Regions from separate parts of the Homo sapiens genome. Here region 2 is linked to region 1. Evidence: promoter capture Hi-C in 16 types of primary human blood cells and fetal thymus (Javierre and others, 2016). All regions are on one chromosome and are shown on one strand. Each heading gives the region's core, a stretch centred on a gene start or on the middle of the fragment in contact. The rest is flanking DNA. Distances are from core to core; before and after follow the strand shown.

The links. The method cuts DNA at HindIII sites, captures the fragments that hold promoters and counts their contacts. A CHiCAGO score of 5 or more calls a contact.
Region 2: a contact is called between a fragment that was not itself captured here and the fragment with the promoter of ATP8B4 in region 1, in 2 of 17 cell types (M2 macrophages and M1 macrophages). The highest score is 9.4, in M2 macrophages.

The regions. Positions count from the first base shown.
Region 1 is chr15:50,117,091-50,121,235 of GRCh38, reverse strand. It overlaps ATP8B4 (ATPase phospholipid transporting 8B4 (putative)), which reads left to right and starts at 2,003. Exons shown (of 28, transcript NM_024837.4): 1 at 2,003-2,113. The HindIII fragment of the contact is 5,193 bases long and covers 2,000-4,145 here.
Region 2 is chr15:50,310,402-50,314,278 of GRCh38, reverse strand. The region is part of intron 1 of GABPB1 (GA binding protein transcription factor subunit beta 1); the gene reads left to right. Among named protein-coding and RNA genes, the nearest start is that of GABPB1-AS1, 42 kb to the left of the region's middle. The HindIII fragment of the contact is 6,518 bases long and covers 1-3,877 here.

The DNA of each region.
Region 1 (4,145 bases), core at 754-3,253:
TATTCATGAGTGCTTATTATGGACACCAGGAGTTCAACAGTAAACAAAAGTCCCTGCTCTCAAGGAGCTTTTATTTTAGTGGGAGGGAGACAATAAACAGCGAGCACATTTAAAATATTTTTTAAAAATGAGATTATCTTATACACAATTCTTCTGCAACTTGATCTTTTCACTTGACAGTACATCTTGGACATCTTTTTCTATGTCAGTCTGAAGAGGCCTATCTCTTATTTATAATAGCTAAATTTATTGAGTCTCTACTTTGCTCCAGGCACTGTTTTAGTTGCAACAATCCTATGAGGTAAGTTCTATAATGATCATCTTTTTACAGATGGCCCAGATAAGTGTAGGAGCTTGCATAGTCACCTGGCCAGTCACTGGTGGAGACAGAACTAAACTCAGATGACCTGATTCCTTACTCCAATTCTACCCTCTTTTGAATGGCTACATAGTACTCTTTTGTATCAATATACCTTAACTTATTTAGGCAGTCTCTTATATGTAAGCCATTTTTAGGTGTTTTTTTGTTGTTGCTATCATAGTGCTATAATTAACATATTTAGAGATATGTTTGCACGTGTGTGTGGTTTTCTATAAGGTAAATTCCTAAGAAATAAAAACACATACACATTTCAATACTTGATAGGCACTACTATACTCAGTTTCCTTTAAAAAATATTTTACCAATTTATATTCCCACTAACAGTATAGGAAAAGGAAAAGGCCCTGATTTCCTTATATCTTCTTTAACAAAGGGAATTACCAAACTTATATTTGCCCCATATGATAGGTTTAAAAATGGTATAGAGGTGATACTTAAAAATGTTTTTCACTTAAAAGTGTTTTTTATTTTAAATATTTTAAAGAGATGATTGCTTCCTGCTCTAAGCTGTTCTTGGTCCTCTTTTATCATGTAAGAAAGAAAGCCATCTCTCTTATTTCCAGAAATCTGTAGTTTCTTGTTACTGTGGAACCTTGGTAGGAAAAGGCCCTTGTTTCTGTGAAAACCTGAGGGCCCAGCGTGAGGATGTTCCAGGAGAGTGGAGTTGATGGTGCGCAGGGGATTAGCTTGCTCTGGTTATAGAGACATGATTAAAATCTATTTGATTTCAGTACTTAACTGGCAAATCTGATGCAACTTCTGGAAAATTCCTAGATGGCTTTAGGCATATTTAAAAGAAGCCATATTTTTCCTTTTAAAAATAGATATGCACCAAAATATTTTATTTTCATCTAATCCCGCTTTAACAACCAGAATCCCCTTAAAAGCAATTCCAAACTAAAAGATGTAAATCCATTTCCTATGTGCATTTGTTCTTTGGTACCATCAGGGTTAATGTTTGCATCCTCTGTGCTGAAATTAAGGATGTTGGGAAAGAAGTGTCATTGCTTTGCCTACTAAATGTCACTTGAGTATGCTTAGCTTTCATCCATAAGAGAGCTGAACTTCCCCTGTAAAAAAAAAAAAAAAAAAAAAAAAAAAGTGACAAAAACCCACTGCTGATTCTTTCATCTCTGCAAAAGCAGGTGGGAACTGCAAACAGATTTGCTTATCTTCCTCAGTCAAGGGCTGGTAAAAGTTTGGTAAGTAGGCCTGGTAGCCGGTGTCCCCTTCCATTGTTCATTTTCATCCTCCTGAATTCTTGATTCCCACAGAGGAAGCCATCCTCAGAAGCCAGCCTCTTGGGAGTTTCCTTTTGTTTCCCCAAGATTAACCAGTTCTGTCCTGTCAGCAGGAGCAGGCAACTAGGGGAGGAGAGGCTCTTCAGGGCTTTCAGCATTTTTCCAAGGAGTGCTTTTCTCCCTCAATTCCTCACTGACAGTGAAGCTGCTTTCTTGTAAGGTCTTCCTCTTCTTCTGATGAGATGCTGATTCTGATTGCCATCTAGCAGCTTCCGGTGGTGGTAAGTGGTCAAGAGTGTTTTTCCAGGAGTTGATCTCAGGTTTTTGAGAATGCCCCCTAGAGACCCAGTTTGTTTTCTGTATCATCCCTCAAGCTTTCAGAGTAGCCTTGCTTTTCTCCTTGGCATGGTCACGGAATGGATACCTGTTTGATCTTCCTGCACTGCTGAGAAATCTTCCTTTTGGGGGAGAGGATTAAGTCTGGGTTGAGGTGAGTAGATGGGTAGCATTCAATGGTTAGTGAGATGAAGTGGAAATTTAGCTGTGGGCTGGTTGGAACGATCTGTTTCTTTTCTCCAGATCCCTATTTTGTTTTGCTGTTTTCATCTTGGTGACTAAGGTTTCACAAATATTCTTTATTATTCCCCTTTTGCTAAAAAATAAATTTGGGGGAGTTAGTTGGAAATGGGAGATGTGACATTTTCTTTTTTGTTGTTTGAAATGTCTATTTTTTACTCTGTTAGCATGCCTATTAAATGACCAATGATAGTAGCATAAAGGTACATTTCTTCTTGGTTTGTAGGTCTTTGTCACTTCCTTTGGTAGTAGTTGGTTTTATTTTTTTCACGGGGTTTGTATACAGTGCACCTATTCAATATATTGTTTATGGTCAATTTATGCTTTAGACATGAACAGTTTGCACTGAGCTATCCCTCTGAGGTTTGAGGGTTATGTTTTTAGTGCTAAAATTTGTCTGAACAGAAAAAGGTATCCTTCTAGTTGTTTTGTTTATAGGCAAGAGAGTGTCTCAGGTCCCTGGTTAACAATTAGCTGTTTTGAAGAAAAGAAAACTGGTGAAAAACATTAATTGGAAGCTGAAGTCTTGTTAGAAAGTAAATGAGGAAACACAGGTTTTCTTGTGGGATTACCAACACCTGTGCCCATGAAGTATCCCCTTTTACTCAGCTGTTGCTCCATGCTGGCCTTTACTACAAAATGTAAACTCAGAGTGATTTCAGTTTTGATTTTTTTAAATGTATTTTTTATTTTTTATGTGATATGTAATAACTGCACATATTTATGGGGTACATGTGATATTTTGGTATATGCATACGATGTGTAATTAGCATATATATCACCTCAAACATTTACCATTTCTTTGTGTTGGGAACATTCCAAATCTGCTAGCTATTTTGAGATACAATAAATTATCATTATCTATATCGTTTATTTTATCGTTTATATCTATATCGTTTATTATAAATAAAAAATAAATTATCATTATCTATTGTCATACTACCGTGTTATCAAATACTAGAACCTGTTCCTTCTATCTGACTGTATGTTTGTACCCATTAACCAGCCTACCTTCACCCCCTTCTTCCTCTTCCCCTTCCTAACCTCTGGTAACCACCATTCTCCCTCTCTACCTTCATGAGATCAACTTTTTTAGCTCCCACATATGACAGAGGATATGTGATATTTGTCTTTCTGTGCCTGGCTTATTTTGCTTAACATAATATCCTCCAGTTCCATCCATGTTGCTGCAAATGATAGAGTTTTATTCTTTTTCATGGCTGAATAATATTCCATTGTATATAAATACCACATTTAAAAATTTTATTCCTCAAGAAGAAATATTATTGCTTCCATATCTTGGCTATTGTGAATAGTGCTGCAATAAACAGGGGAGTACAGATATCTCTTCAAGGTACTTATTTCCTTTCTTTTGGATGTATTCCCAGAAGTGGGATTGCTGGATCATATGGTGGATCTGTTTTCACTTTTTTTGAGAAACCACAGAGTGATTTATTTTAACCTATATTGTGCCTTTATATTGTCTCATCATGCAGAAATATTTAAAAATGAGGGAACAAATGATTTTTTTTGTGCCCCTGGAGGATTTTTTTGTGGGTGGGAGAATTTTATTTTTTTCATATGTGGCATATTGAATATTTTCATTTAGTAGGAAAAGAGTTAACTAACCATCTAAAAGTAAATTGGAAATTGTAGCTGTCATTGAAATTAAACTTAATGTATGTTTGGCCAGATGCAGTGGCTCATGCCTGTAATCCCAGCACTTTGGGAGGCTGAGGCAAGTGGATTACTTGAGGTCAGGAGTTCGAGACTACCCTGGCCAACATGATGAAACGCCCTCTCTACTAAAAATACAAAAATTTACCAGGCATGGTGGTGGGCTCCTGTAATCTCAACTACTCAGGAGGCTGAGGCAGGAGAATCGCCTGAACCGTGTGGTGGAGGTTGCAGTGAGCCGAGATCAGGCCACTACACTCCAGCCTGGG
Region 2 (3,877 bases), core at 1-2,500, 190 kb before region 1:
CTGGGAGGTGGAGCTTGCAGTGAGCCGAGATCACGCCACTGCACTCCAGCCTGGGCAACAGAGCGAGACTCCGTCTCAAAAAATAAATAAATAAATAAATAAATAAATCTACCGTATGGCTGTATTGCTCATGGAATTTTAAAACCAGAGTAACTTAAGTATATTAGGTCCTAAACTGTGATATGTTTTGAATAATTAAGACAATTGAATAATTATGGTAAAAGTCGATTTGTTCAAATGCTTCATGATTTTATTATAATTCATGTAAGCAGATCTATGATTGATATTTTAAGTTCCCAACATTATACATTTTCTTTGTTTTTTCCGCTCATCCTCTCTAGTAAGTCAGGAACATAAAACTTTCCTTAATGTTATCATTTGCTTAGTTGACAGTCATACAATGTAATTTGTCCCTTTGAAAAAAAATTTTTTAAATTAGGTAATATAGTAACATTAGAAACTTTGTAAAATGACAAAATTTCCCATAATCATACCATCCTAAACAATTGTTAATATTTTTCAGTATTTTATACTTTATATGCATATTTTGACGTTAAAAAGATTTATATCTTTTCATAATGTGGCATAAATTTTTTGTTGTTTATATAGCTTCAAAACTATTAGGTTAAATTACTGCATTTTTTTCCTTTAGATTCTACAATTCAATCATTTTCTTACCTTTAGATTGGTCACATTAGAAGAGTTATATATAATATATATGTGTATGCATATATAATCTTTACTGATAAATCTGTTTCAATATATTTTTCCTTTAGAATAGATTCTTAGAAGTGGGATCACTTATTGGGTCAATGGACTTGGATATTTTTGTAACTTGTTAAATTTGCCCAGTTGACTAAAAAATAAAGCTGATCCACTTATATTACTATCAGCATATCTGAGTTGTCAATATATCAAAGCATCAGTTTCACTTAATTCTTGGCTGCATCAGGAATTACTTTAAAATTATTTACTTTATGTTAACCTGATTAACAGTGACACTGAGCATTTTTTGCCCTTGTGAATTATTTCTATTTTCTTTTCTGTAAAACATATGGTCCTGTCTTTTAACTATTGATGTGTTGGGTCCTTGCTGTTTACTTTTCCCCCACCTTTTCATTTTGAGTCAGACCTTTTAAATAAGTAAAACATGAATGTTTCTTCTAGTCATTTTTGTGGTAAATATATTTCTTTGCCATTTCTTATTTTGATTATTTTAATATGTAGAAGTTGCACATTTTTATGAGACTCAACAGTTATCTACCCATAGAAAATACTATGTGTTATCAAAGAAAGAACATAAGACAGTCAAAATTCAGGGTTCTGGACAGAGATATTTATAATACTTGTTATATTTGACAAAGGACTCATATCCAGAACATATGTCAGAACGCTTACAAATCAATAAAAAAAAGACAGACAACCCAGTTTCAAAAGGTGGGGAAAAGCCCTAAACTCTCACTTCACAAAAGATACTCAGATATCTAAACCATTTGGCAGTATGTATGCTGAATGAATGCAAACTGATTTTATATTACCTGTGTAAAACCTATTTAAAAATGTAGATTTTTGGAAAGATAAATTTCATCGTAAAGCCAAATTTATATCATTCAGAGTATAAATGCTGTATTTGTTAGTGTGACCAGTTTAGATTTTACCGTACTTCTGTAGGAGAGAGGTCGGTTTCTTTTTGCTTTATCCTGCCTTTAATAGGAAATTATTTTTGCAGGTTTCTTCCCTGTTGAATATGATGTTAATTTTTACTGTCCAGCAGTTACATATTATCTAGGAAAAAATGCCTCATTGGAGATCAGTAATCTCTATAGATCTTAGCGTCTTTAAGCAGGATTGAGGAGTATCTTGGCTTTCAGTGACTCCATCAAGGTATGAGAGAATAGGAGAAAAAAAGGAAAGGAAATCAGAAATTCAAGGATGAAAATGTTGCGAGTGTCACAGAGAAGTGTATTTAAAAAACCCATATAAATCCCACAAGTACATGTGGTTGTTTTTCCTATTCTTTACTACAGGATATAATATAGATTATTTTTTTTTTTTGAGATGGAGTCTCACTCTTGCCCAGGCTGGATTGAATTTTTAGTAGAGACAGGGTTTCACCCTGTTGGCCGGGCTGGTCTCGAACACCTGACCTCAAGTGATTCACCCACCTCGGCCTCCCAGAGTGGTGGGATTACAGGTGTAAGCTGCTGCGCCTTGCCATAATATAGATTATTTTTATCCTTACAAATGAAACAATTCTAAGAAATTCTTTCTTGCCTTGTGACGAAGGCCTGTTTGGGATATGTATATCTCACCTAATTATTGTGCAAGCCTCCAAGTATTAGTATCTGTCCCTGGTTACCTCTTCTGTGCTTGGTTATTCCCATCGTAGCTAATCTACTAAAAATTATAGGCATAATTCTGTTTATTTTCATGGACAGCTTTTCTTATAATTACCCCTTTTAGATTTCTTATCCCTTTTAATGATGTAGAACATTTTGTTTCTTTCTGGCAGAAATAACTTTTTCAAGCCCCATTTGCCAACTTCCTTCTCACACATACGCTCCTTTCTCTTCCTTATTGAGTGCAAGTTGAGTATCCCTTATCTGAAATACTTAGGTCCATAATGTTTCCGATTTTGGGTTTTTTCAGATTTTGGAATATTTGCATTAATACTTACTGGTTCAGCATCCCTAATGCAAAAATGCAAAATCTGAAATGCTCTAATGAGTATTTCCTTTGATGCTTAAAAAGTTTCAGATTTCAGATTTTTGGATTAGGGATACTCAACCTGTAATAGTTGTTCATACCAGGTAGAGATACACTAATCAACCTGCCATTACTCTCTTTATAATTTATTTTCTCTTGACTACTTACCTAACCCTCAGAGTATATACTTTTTTTGAGATAAATTTATACCCCAGGCACATTTTTTCATTGTAAATCTCAGGGATTCCATATATTCCCTTCCCCATGGGCCTAAAATTCTGCTTTTCCTTACTTAGGATACTGTATGACATAATTGAGTAATCTTCCAGCTGGATAGTCTTTCTGGGTTTGGAAACTTTCTTCTCAGAACTGTCATCCCTTGAATTTGAATGTTTGTGATACATTCAAATCTTAATTTACCTATATTCTACTGTCATAATCTTTTTTCTGACATATATTTCAATATTTCTTATTCAAGAAGACACAAATACATACACACCCATGCACACCTCACATCCCAGGCTGGGACATTAGCCTTTTCAGATATATTAAATTCAAGGCACAAGATATTCTTTCCTGGTTTTTTTTTTTTTTTTTGAGACAGAGTTTACTTTGTTGCCCAGGCTAGAGTGCAGTGGCATGATCTCGGCTCACTGCAACCTCCGCCTCCTGGGTTCAAGTGATTCTTGTGCCTCAGCCTCCTGAGTAGCTGGGACCCTAGGTGTGAGCCCCCATGCCCAGCCAATTTTTTATTTTTAGTAGAGATAGGGTTTCACCATGTTGTCCAGGCTGGTCTCGAACTCCTGGCCTCAAGGATCCACCTGCCTCAGCCTCCCAGACTGCTGGGATTACAGGGATGTGCCATCGCACCTGGCCTCTAGCCTCTAATGAGACAGTCTATTCGTAATACTATTACTGTTTTTAGTATTTTCATAGAATGTGAATTGTTTACTTTCTGCAAGAACTTAAATATACATTGCATGTAGGAGGGCAGAAAATTTGTTTTTTAAAATTTTGAACACATTTACTATTGCAAAAAAATTTATGCTAAGTTTAGTTTAATTTGCACCAACAACAGATGACAATATCTTGCACTTTATTTACTTTTATGAAAAATTTTATTGCTGCAAACCCTCCAGTAAAAACAATTAGTTGCCAGTTTTAAATTTTA